Regions from separate parts of the Homo sapiens genome. Here all the other regions are linked to region 1. Evidence: promoter capture Hi-C in 16 types of primary human blood cells and fetal thymus (Javierre and others, 2016). All regions are on one chromosome and are shown on one strand. The core of a region is centred on a gene start or on the middle of the fragment in contact, and the rest is flanking DNA. Distances in the headings are between cores, read along the strand shown. Region 1 holds the start of OR52L1 (olfactory receptor family 52 subfamily L member 1). Region 2 holds the start of CCKBR (cholecystokinin B receptor). Region 3 has its middle 22 kb from the start of CAVIN3.

Region 1 (4,120 bases), core at 612-3,111:
TAGCTATGTTTACCAACACCGGGATCTAGCACATTTTGTAGTTATTAGATGCTAATAATTATATGGTTACTTTTGGGTTTTTTAATGAATATTTATAAAACAAACATATACGCAGTACTTGGTCTTATTCCTTCTTTATCCAAAGCATGAATATAAATAAGTTGAAAATACAAAGAGATATCTTTTAAAATAAATTTCCTAGACACATATAGATTTCTTCCTTGAAAATAGAAATTATATTTTATTATTCCTAGAGCCTATTACCATAACTTCTCCACTTATGTTTGTTTTAAATAAATAAGTAATACCCATATTGCAATAAATGCTGTTTTCTTACACTGCGACCTTCTCAGCTGCTTTGAAGAGACCCTATTGGTAAACAGGAGCCAATGATCTGGGGATCCCAGCACTAACTTAGAGGTTTTGAAGAAACTCTAAACCTAAAACCAACCAAAGGGTGGGACTTTACAATTCCAGACAGTGTTGCATGGCCTACCATTGGGCAAAGGCGAGAAAGATGACACATTCAGAGCTATCATCTATTTCTCCTATCCCCAAGTCCTACTGACACAAGGAGTAGAGAAATGTTGAAATCAAGAGCAAAAGAAAAAATGGCAAAAATATTCACAAATCCAGATATCCAGGTACATCCCAATAAGCCAAGTATCTGTGGGTGTTCTTTAGCATGGCACTAGTAAGACTAGAAGGAATACTCACTGCAAAATGGTCTGTATTCATGTAATCTACACCAGTCACAGGCTCCTGGCTGTGGTCCGCAGAAGAAGCCTCCGAAGGAAACAATGAGAATATGTTCAGATCAATCCTTTTGTGTAAACACTCTGAGCACTCGCTGGCGGATCTGCTGAGTCTTCACTCCATAGACAAGAGGATTGAGCGCAGGTGGCATGAGGAGATACCGTGTGGCCAGAAGAACATGGACATGATGGGGTACATGATGACCAAAGCGGTGAGTGAGGAAGGAGAAAATTCCAGGGACATAGAAGACCAGGATGACACAAATATGAGAGCCACATGTGCTAAACGCCTTAAGTCGGGCCTCACTCCCTGGTACCTTCAGCACTGCCTGGAGGATGTGGGCATAGGAAACACCAATGGCCAGAACATCCAGCCCAATCACAAGCAAGGCCATAGTCAGCCCATAAGCTCGATTGACTGTGGTTTCTGAGCAGGCAAGTTTCACAACAGCCATATGTTCACAATAGGCATGGCCTATGATGGTGGCTTGGCAGAAGATAAGTGTTCCCAACAAAATGGGGAAGGGGATAAGGAGTAGTAATCCCCTCACCAGCACCACCATTCCGATGCGCCCTATGACCCCTGGATGCAGGATTGTGGAATGGTGCAAGGGGTGACAAATGGCTACATAGCGATCCAGAGCCATGGCCACAAGTACCCCTGACTCCATGGAGGAGAATGCATGGATGAAGAACATCTGGATCAGGCAGACGATGTACCCAATCTCGTGGGCATGAACCAGGAGCACTGCAAGGGCTTTGGGTGCAGTGGAGGAGGCCAGAACCAGGTCGATGGCAGCTAGCATGGACAGGAAGAGGTACATAGATTGGTGCAAGGATGGGTCCATCCAGATGATGAAGAGAATGGTAACATTGCCCACTAAAGCAAGGAGGTAAAGGATGCCCAGGGGCAGTGCAATCCAGTGCTGGCTTTCCTCTAAACCTGGAATCCCTACCAGGAGAAAAGAAGGCTGGGATAGCCTCCAGCTTGAATTGCTAAGGAGCATTATCAATGGCTTGGAGAGGAAAGAGAAAAAAGAAACCAAAGTCATGATTTCTGCATTCCTGCTACATTATCACATTGTCCAAATGGGGCAACCATCATCCTGAGAAGAATAAAGTGACTTCAACTGCAAACGAAGGGAATAAAGTTAGCTACAGGGAAGAAAATCTCCTTTGGTGGAGATAATTCTTTTACAAGTGAGACATCCACATGTCTGAATTAATACAAGCTTAGTTTTGTTTAGAGATAAGAGTAAACATAAGCTGCTTTTGGAGAGATGCTTAAACTCTACTATTCAGTTGCTTATATTTTGGAACTGTCAACTTCAAAGAGTTATTTTTATTAGCCTCTTGGTATTACTGACCACTGTGAATCAATCTGTTGTTTTTGAAATTAGTCTTCCTCAGTTTCCATGACATGGCACTCCAGAGTTGTTCCCCCTGTAGCCTTGGTCCCACCATTTTCTCTATCTCATTATGTCATTGATTCCAGGGATCCATCCTCTCCTGTATTCCCTATTCTGTGCATTATCTCTTAATTGACTTCATTTATTCCCATGGTTTTAACTGTTTATATACTTTTATTTCTTCCAAATTTATGTCTGTTTACCCAAATATCCTTCTGAAATATAAATCCATTTTTCCATTTGCTTTATGAATATCTATACACCACATCCTCAACATATTCAACATTGGATTAATTCACCTATTTTTCCCAAATTTGTTCTACTTATGTTTTGGCAATAATTTTTAATTACATCCCTAGCTACCTACACAACCCAATCTAAAAACTTGGAACCTGTCTTTACTCATAATCCTCATCCCCTTTTATTCATTCACCAATTCATGTTGACTTTATGTTAACCCCTCTTATATCCACTCCTTCTTCTCAACCCCCAATATCACTACCTTAGTTTACACCCAACTTCTCTCACCTGGACTATTTCATAACATCTTTCTGCCTTTGCCATAAACACCTTCCCAATTCACTCTCAACCCTGAAGTCATGGGTTTTTTTTCTAAAATGCAGATCTCATCATATCACTCCTAAGATTAAAATCCTTTGGTGAATTTATTGCATGGAATAAAATCATACTTTGAGACTGGCATAAAAGATTATCAAAAGTTATCTTTTTTGCATTACTTTTGTCTTACAGTTGATATATTTCTACATATGTTTTACTAACCATCCCTGCATTCTTGGAGTTACATGTACACACCAAGCTTACCTATGCCTTTTGTGTAGTCTGTCTCCAAATTCCTTTATCTGAATTGGTCCTTCAAAATTCAAAGTCCACTGTCACCCCTCAAAAGGACTCATTGCCTATGTCAGATGAATATTGATTATGTTCAGAGCACTTTATAATCTTCCTTTATTCATCCATAACTTTCTGACTTATCTCTAGAAATTCTATCAGTGTCTTAATGGTTTGTTTTTTTAAAGAAACATATCTTATTATACTTTATAATTATAACATAGCATGGTGAACATTTCACAATGTAGTGAGATAAATAAAAGCAATGGAGGAAGACAGACTTAGTTTAAATTTTGTCCATTTCATATTCTAGGAATAAAACCTTGGCAGGATACTAAAACTCTCTCAGTCTTGATTTCCTTATTTTATAACTAACATCAATCTTACAGGTTTATTGTAAACATTAATTAAGTAATATATGTAAAGTCTTGATATCTAGATTAGTCTACAAATTATAGTTATAATTATTTTAATATTAGCAATAGAAGATGACTGAGAATTAGACCACAGGCTTCTTTCTTTTCTTCTTTGTCTCCATGACTCTGCTTCTCTTTTTCAAACTTTTGATATGTTTACCTCTCATCATGATATTATAACAAACAATTCAGTGTCTTTGACAACCGCATGTTAACATGAAGTATCAACTTTGTCCATGGGATTCACCCTTGAAATTTACTAAAAGAAAAAACTTGAAACTGGATATGTGTATGTAGGTATGTTTGTCTTAAAGGACAGGCGTAGTCTGAAATAACTGTATTTTTCTCTGTTGGAGTGGTGGTGCACATGTGCGTGTAAAGATTAAAAAGTCAAGAATGACTTAGTTCTTGTGGATAATGCATCCATAGATTACTCAGAGCTCTTTTTGTACAAATTAATGATGACAATCATATTGCCCTAAAACTCTGAATATGATAGCTATAAAGTCTGAAATGCCACGTGGGCATATATCTCCCAAGTTTCTCTGTTTTTCTTCTAGAATCAACTTGAAATAACAATGACATTTTTATTGAGACATCCAGGGGAATCTCATAATCTTACAAAAATTCACCTCTCAGTGCTTAACATTCCACATAGAGAGAAAGTCCATTGTCTTTTTTGCCTACCTCC
Region 2 (3,909 bases), core at 1,117-3,616, 270 kb after region 1:
TGATTGATTCAATATGGGAGTGATGTAGTTATGTTCCCCAGGAAGCAGACTCTCAAACAAAGATTACTGTGGAGGATGTTTACTAAGGAGCGTTCTTGGAGTTAACACCTGTGCAAGAGAGAGGATGAAAATAGGATTGGGCAAAAGGAGAAGCTGAGTAGTAATTCAGTCCCAGCAAAGACCTCAGTCAACCATATGAAGGGTTCTAGGGGTGTGAGCATCTTTCAGAGTTGTCCACCACTGGGTTGAGGGGATTAAACTTTTATACCTCTGTGCTGATCGGTCATTGGATATAGAATGCCCAAGAAAGGGAGCATAACCTTGGATGAGCTGGCTTTCTTCTGCTTAGGCAACTCCTGAAGGGTTATGACAGCTGAGGGCCATCTTTTAGGAGCACTCTCCACAGCTGGAAAATAAATCCTCCATTTTTGAAGAGGGTTCTGGGCTTTGCATCACAGCATCCAGCGCAGGGGTGAAGGAGCATAGGGGAGTAAGGCATCAATAATAATTCCTAAATTTCTGATTTGTACATCCTGGTGGGTGCACTTAACGACCATATATTACAATCATTGGCTTGCTTGGGAAAATCCCACTAGAGTAGGTGCTACTGAGGGGCAAACTATATTGGACAACTAGTGCATACCCCTAGAACTGGCATAGTTTGCTAAATAAGTGAATGTCCATCTATTTCTATTTTCACTCCCCTCTCCCTTACATCCTTTGCTCCCTTCCCTCCTCATCGTACTGTCATCCAATGTGGGAAAACTTGAGCAGGTTATCTGAGGCCCCACCTGTGCTGGAGCGGAACAAATAGCAAATCAAGCTCCTCTGGTCCAGGCTCTCTGATGGGCAAGACAGGCAGTACCAGGAGGAAGGAAAGGGGGAGCAGTTGATGACATCTCAGGCATAAACTGTCTTTCAACTCTCTTTCAATGCTTCAGCCCCTATAAACTCAGGGCTGGCTGAACCAGGTCCTCTCCAAAAGATTAATTGGATAAGGGCCTGCTGAATCCCCCATAAAGCCAGACTCCATTCTCTAATTTGCTCTTCCACTGATGCCCGCCCCCAACCTCTTACAGCTACTGCTGGGGGTCAGAAGAATTTCACATCGTATTGGAGTTCATCCGGAATCTGAAGAATGGATAGGAATCTGGAGATAGGAATCTGGAGATAGGAATCTGGGGAAGAAAAGGAATGGATAGGAGAATGCATAGGGAGCAGGGCTGAAATAGTAGAAGAGGCAAATCCTGCCCCGAGAAGCTGAACCCAGTTCAGTCCTGCACCCTTCAGCCCTGTTCCCGCTGCACCGCAGTGACCCAGTCCCCTTCTAGCCCCCTCTCGTGGGAACCTGACACCCTACACAGGCAGCTCTGCCTGCACTGAGAGCAAACAGGGAGCGTTAGCGTGTCGGGTGGGCGTGGGCGCTGCCTGGAGACGGTGGAGAAAGCCAACCTTCTCCTTCTCTTTTGCCTGCGCTGGGCCGGCGTTAGAATTATATCCCATCCTCACCTTACTCTGGTTTATCCTTGTCAGTGCTTGCCACCACCCCCAACTGCCCTCAACACTCAAGTCAGAAGCTTCCTCCCGGGAGCCCTTTTCCCTGGCAAGGCTTCCCTGGAGCCAAATCTCGGCCCCGGCCCCACCCCCACTCCCGCCCAGCTGTGGAGGGCTCCTTGGGACCCTTAAGTGCAAGCCTGAGTGTTAAGCCTCAGACAGGAGATGGAGGGTGCGGAGACAGATGCAGGAGCTACCCCAGGCCCGCAGCGAGGAGCTGCAGGGAACTACGGTAGCAATAGTGTCACGGTCACTGCGGCCACTGCAACACAGTACGGTAAATGCGGCTCTAGGCTCAGACTAAAGCATCCGCGCCTCAGCAGGTGACGCACGCAGACCTGGTCTCCAACGCCACCTCCACGTTCCCTGATACACCAGAGAAAGATGCTGGATCCGTGGCAGCCGTCTCTACCCAACCCCTCCTACCCTCCCTTCCCCGAAACCTCCCCCTACGCTGCCAATACTCTTGTCTTCAATCTCTCTCTCTCTCTCTCTCTCTCTCTCTCTCTCTCTCTCTCTCTCTCATTCCTGGGAATCGGGGGTGGGGGCGGGTGATAAAGAGAGGTGGGCAGGAGAGAAATCTCTAAGAGGAGACGGGACACATCTAGGGAGGGGGCGAGCCTGGAGGACAGTCGCACAGGGAGGGGCAGAACTCCCGAGCCAGGGAGGGGGTGCACAGTCACCTGGCGGGACAGAGGCTGGCGGAGGGACGGGAACCCAGGCGGGGCGAGCCGCGGGAGAGTGGAGGGCAGGCGCCTGGGCTGGGGGCGGGGACCAGGCGGGGCAGGGGGCAGGGAGAGGAGGGCGGCGGGAGCCTGAGCCGGAATCGCAGCGTGAGCAGGTGGAGCCGCGTTGGGAGCCCGCCGGGTCGAGCTGAGTAAGGCGGCGGGCTCGGCGGGGGCCATGGAGCTGCTAAAGCTGAACCGGAGCGTGCAGGGAACCGGACCCGGGCCGGGGGCTTCCCTGTGCCGCCCGGGGGCGCCTCTCCTCAACAGCAGCAGTGTGGGCAACCTCAGCTGCGAGCCCCCTCGCATTCGCGGAGCCGGGACACGAGGTGGGTGCCTCCCTCAGCCCCCCCCACAAGCTATTTCTCACTGTACCCCAGAACACTAATAGAGTCCCCCCAACGAGCTCCACACTACCTTCTCAAACGTCCACACCGTGCCTCTCATAGTACTCCCTCAGCCCCCAAACAGCTCCCCTCACACCTTCACCCCCACAGCCTACAACTTCATCACAGCTTCACACCACCTGGTCGGAACTCCTTCACATCCTGGTCCCCTGAATACACCTAGAGCCCCTGCTCACCCCAAAGCACAGCCCCTTCCCCAACACGCAGCCCCTCCTAGACACCAGTCAGAAGGCGAGGACCTCCTCTTGCCAACCCTGCAGATCTCCTTTTCCCTCTTACATCCAGTTCACAGAGCCACAACAGAGAAGGGAAGGAAGAAAGGAAGGCAGGACTGGGAAAAGAAGGGGGCTGGTTGAGGGAGGGAGCACTCTGGAAAGCTTGAATGCGAAGCTGAAGTTGTGATCACATCTGACACCCCAGCCCCCAGCCATCCCAAAAAAGATCCTCAAATCTGAATTAGGCTGGACACTAGGGGATGCTCCTTAGAGCTGCCTGCCTCCATTTCACTCCTTCTCAAACCCCTCTGCCTCCCTAGTTGGAGCTTTCGAGGCTCTGTGCCCTCTCTCTTTGTCTGCAAGTAATGTCTCCAGCTATCTTCCAAGCTCTCTCTCCAGCCCTAGGCTAGGTGCTGGGGGCACAGGGCAAACTAGACCCAGTCTGGACCCTCATGGCCCATAGCCAAGTGCAGAGAGAAACCAAGCAAATGGAAAAATCACAGACACAATGGAAGTCCCATGAAAGGGTCTAAACTGTGGGCACCAAAAGAACTTCACAGAGGCTAGAACCTTAGAGCTGGGTCTTGAAGTTGAGTAGGCAGAAAAGGAAGGAGTGGGATTCTAGGTGAAGGAGCAATGTTAAGCAGAAGGAAATTTTTCTAAACTCAAAAAGGGAAAGTTGGAATAAATTGTAATCCAAGTATTTATTTACCCCACGAAATAATCTATGCTTTCTCAGCCGAGTTGTTACACACTCACACTTGGATTCTGTCATTCAGCCAATATTTATTGAACCAGAGATTGTGCTAGGCAGTGGGAATGTAAGTTGAACAAAACCGACACAATTCCTACTTCACAGAGCTCAAAGTTTAATGGGCGAGACAGAAAAGCAGGGGATTGCAGCACAAAGTGGAAGAGCCTTGACAGGGAAAAGATAGTGGGAACACAAGTGGAACACCTCTAGCCCAGCCCAGCCTCCTTGAGAATTAAAGTTGGCCTCTTGAGGAA
Region 3 (3,977 bases), core at 1,430-3,929, 310 kb after region 1:
CAAAAACATGGAAAGAGGGTTGATTTTTTTCTCCCCGTTGTGTGTGGCCTGACTGGTGATACTGTGAGTGCTACGAGAGGGTGCCTGTCCTGATTGGATGAAAGTCGTGGGCTAGTTGGGGTTGGAGAAGAGTTGTAAACAGAATCCTAGAGTCGTGTGCTGGGGCTCAGAAGTGAGTGGATTACAGGCAGGCCCAGTTAGGACCGTAGCTTTGTAACACTGAAAATGGCATCAGCATCCCAACCTTAAGGATTACCTTATGTAGAGTAGATTTTGAGCTTCAATAAAACCATGCATTGTCAATAGCCCACACTTCCTATTATCTGTTTCTGTTTCTATGGGAGCTCTTTTACAACTCTAAGCTGTAAATAACGGCAATGCAAAACACCATTCCCTCTTACCTCCCTACCCCACCCCACCCCCAAATAAAAACGAGTTTGGGCTCAATTTACACATGCATCTTTGCTATTTTTGTAATTTTAATTTTTCTCTTTACTAATTTTGTGTTTTGGTTTTGGTTCATTTGTAGGCAATAATCATTAGCAGCAGCAATGATTGAGAATTGGGTTTCATAGTCTGACCATTTGGTGATCTCTATAAATAGATGAATGACTTATAGAGACATATTCTCTTTTGTGTGAGAGAAAATGGAGAATCTGGATTATTAGTTCTTTTTGTTTGTCTATTTGTCTACTTTAAGCCCAAATGAATTAAGAATCCTGGGCTCACTGGGAAGGAGAACAAATCTTTCATACTGAGACTGGTGAGTTTTGGGGTTTCTTTATTACCCTTAACCCATGATGGAATTTTTAATTGAAGTATAAGATTTCTTTGTCTCTGTTTGTCTATGTGTCCATAATTTAGAAAGATCTTTACCTTTCACAGTGTAAGTATGTAAAATTTTCCTACCTCTAGATAATACTAATAAATTAGATTATCAATCTCTTTTTAAAGAGGCTCTTTTCTGATTGGCTGATAGAGATAAATAAGCACTTATATAAAAAGAATATTCTTAAAATTCCCAGAAAATAATGGATTTGAACTTCTAATACTTTAAATATGCTACATTTTAAAAATATCCTTATCTCCTTCTTTAATATGCTTCATTACAGACACAAAGACCTAGGGCCATTTCTTGGTACTCTTCTGTGTCCAGGTGACTGCAATACAGCTAAACAGCTTTTCTGATATGATAGCCTCTGCCCGTTTAGTTAGACAAGGTGCAATATGAATCAAGTCCATCTGTAGGAAACTATCTTCATACAGATGAAGGGTTCCTAGTCCAGTTCTAAATAAAAATTTCTTCCTGTCTCTGTAAAACATCTCAGACTGGATAGAACAGATCAAGTAGAGTAGTGATTTATGATACAGTGTGAAGATCCTATCTATTAAGCATGTGCCTGGTGTAAGGCCATAAGACTTGAAGAAACAATCTGAAGAAATTGTCTTCAGAGAATACTTCAAACGTTGCAAAATATCTTAACACCTTGCTGTGATCCACACAGAAGACCAACTGGCGTGACTTATTTATGAGATCTTTGCAAATGCAGTGAAGGCATTGGTCTCTTCCAAATTGAGAATGAGCATTACCACAATGACATGCATCCTTGGACATAACTAACATCAGGACTGTAACATAAATATGCTGCTACCATACTATGTAAAACATCATGAAATGGCCACTCTTCTAAAAGATGTAGGTAGAGAGATGGCAATGCATAGGATCTGTCCAGCTTAATTCCAGACCAGCACCAGGATCGCCAACAGGTACACCTTCTCTATCAGAGAGAATGATGTGTTCAGAGAGAACTTGTTTCACCAAAGTTTTTTCACCACTCCTTTCCTCTTGAGAGGACTAGTTCATAAAGGTCAGGAATGATAATCCATTCATTTCCTACAGTGAGACTACAAATTTGCCCAGGAACACTAGGGGGCAACCCCTGAACATAATTTACCTTTTCTCCTACTATGCCTTATTTTTCACTGGTCCAAATAACCACTGCAACTGGCAATATTTTCTTCCTGTTTAAATTACTGTTTTCTTTCTTTCCTTCTTTCTTTTTTCTGTCTTTCCTTCTTTCTTTTTTTCTTTCTTTCCTTCTCTCTCTTTCTTTTTTTTGACTGCTTTAATTTCTTGATTTTGAGACTGATTCACAGTCCCACATTCTTGTTGGTGACCTAAAGCTTCTTCTAATGATTTGACAAGATTTCCTTGGAGTGGGCAAAGATTTCTTAAGCAGAACATAAAAGCAGTAATCAATCATATGATGGCTCATACCTGGAAATCAGAGTACAGGTAAAAATGGTTCAGATTCGAAATTCTTATGTCTTGAAGCCTGACATGGTGGTTGACAGGTCCTTCTGTTTGTGCTTCATACTTTTGCTAAATTATTTTTGAAAGTTTTCTAAAGATAATCTCTGGGATAAACTTTGCCAAATAATTTGTAACCAGGAACACGAGGAACAACTGGTGAGCCTCTTTTGTCCTTTTTAGAAAAGATTTGAGACAAGCAGGGGCAGGTGGTGGTGGGCTCATCTCCAAACAGCTGTGAGAGTTAGCATTAAGGTAGTAAGCCCACCAACCTCACCCTACTTCATCCTCCCCAGTCCTCTCCGCCCAGGTGGCAGGGAGCACGCCCTCTGCTGACCAGCGCACCAGTGGCTCCAAGTACCCAGTCTTTGGCATCAGTGGCCACCAGGCTGCAGCTCTGTGAACAGCAGCTGCAGAGGAGCTTCCTGCCAGCCCAGGGAAGCCATAGCCTGTGCATGATCAGCCCCTTTTAGGAAACTAAGGTTGATTTGATGGAGCCAGTGCTGGCAAATCTGTCCAAGGAAAACCGTCCTGGTACCTGGATTTATCCAGGATCCAGCCTTGGAGGTGGTAAGGGAGGTCACTTTCGTGGCAGGCCAAGAGCCTTGAGAGGTTTTGAAAAATTCAAGAAGAGGCTGGTCACGGTGGCTCATGCCTATAATTCCAGTACTTTGGGTGGCTGAAACGAGTGGATCACCTGAGGTCAGGAGTTCGAGACGAGCCTGGCCAACATGGCAAAGGAAGGAAGGAAGGAAGATTCAAGAAGAAAGGAATTAGGCCAAAATGTATAGATACTACAGATGAAATCTTATGGAGAAATTTCCTTGGACTTACCATCTTAGCTTCAAGACAGCAAATGAATAGAAGCTTGTAAAAGATCAAGCTGAGATTTCTTAGAGAACCTCTAGCGGAAAAAACTTAAAGAAGGCCCATATGGTTAACAGTCTTGCTGCACCTGTTTAAAGAACCAGGCCGAATCTAATAAGACCATACTCATTTTGTCATCAAGAATCTTTGAGGTTCTTTGTAATAAAAAGTGGGGGGACTATAAGGAAAAAATTGTGCTTAATTTGAAAATTACGTGTTGTCATTCCAGAGCACACCTGACTTGTCTGATTCCAATTCTGTGGGAGCTGTTTTGCAGCTCTATAAAGTGTAGATAACTGGCAGCAATGCTAAATCATTCTTGTCTATAGATATGCAAATGAATGCTGTCCGGTAAAACAACAACAACAACAAAAAAAACCCCATCTGGCTGTATTTGCACAGTCATTTTAATATTCCGGATCTATAAATGTGTCTGTCCTTGGGATTCTCCTTTCACCTGGTTGTAATACTTCACTGCTTTCCTCATGAATTAGTTAAATAAAAACTTTAACTCATGTTTATTCTTATATCTGTATAAGAGTACTGATCTTACCTGTTTATGAAAATTATCTTTTAATGGCTACTTAGAACTAAATTATCCTTTAATGGCTTGTCCCCGTCTTTGTTTTAGCCACAGAGGGCCTAGAGACTTTAAGGCAAAGTATCAGAGACTTTTGAGGCAGCCCAGTCTGGCGACTTTCCCAGCAACCTAGCGCAGAAACTTTCTAGAAGCTTTATGATGACATCCCTGTTCAGAAGCACTTGGTGTTTTTTCTGTTCTATTGACTGAGGTGTCCTG

What was found. The method cuts DNA at HindIII sites, captures the fragments that hold promoters and counts their contacts. A CHiCAGO score of 5 or more calls a contact.
Region 2: a contact is called between the fragment with the promoter of CCKBR here and the fragment with the promoter of OR52L1 in region 1, in 4 of 17 cell types (M2 macrophages, M1 macrophages, monocytes and 1 more). The highest score is 7.5, in M2 macrophages.
Region 3: a fragment that was not itself captured here is called in contact with the fragment with the promoter of OR52L1 in region 1 in 2 of 17 cell types (M0 macrophages and M1 macrophages); the score reaches 5.6 in M0 macrophages.

The regions. Positions count from the first base shown.
Region 1 is chr11:5,985,124-5,989,243 of GRCh38, forward strand. It overlaps OR52L1 (olfactory receptor family 52 subfamily L member 1), which reads right to left and starts at 1,862. Exons shown (of 1, transcript NM_001005173.3): 1 at 769-1,862. The coding sequence starts at 1,807. The coding sequence ends at 818. It also overlaps a transcript of OR56A3 not described here. The HindIII fragment of the contact is 2,597 bases long and covers 1-1,985 here.
Region 2 is chr11:6,257,472-6,261,380 of GRCh38, forward strand. CCKBR (cholecystokinin B receptor) reads left to right here and starts at 2,367. Exons shown (of 5, transcript NM_176875.4): 1 at 2,367-2,608. The coding sequence starts at 2,458. The HindIII fragment of the contact is 1,486 bases long and covers 1,576-3,061 here.
Region 3 is chr11:6,296,110-6,300,086 of GRCh38, forward strand. No RefSeq gene overlaps it. Among named protein-coding and RNA genes, the nearest start is that of CAVIN3, 22 kb to the right of the region's middle. The HindIII fragment of the contact is 994 bases long and covers 2,183-3,176 here.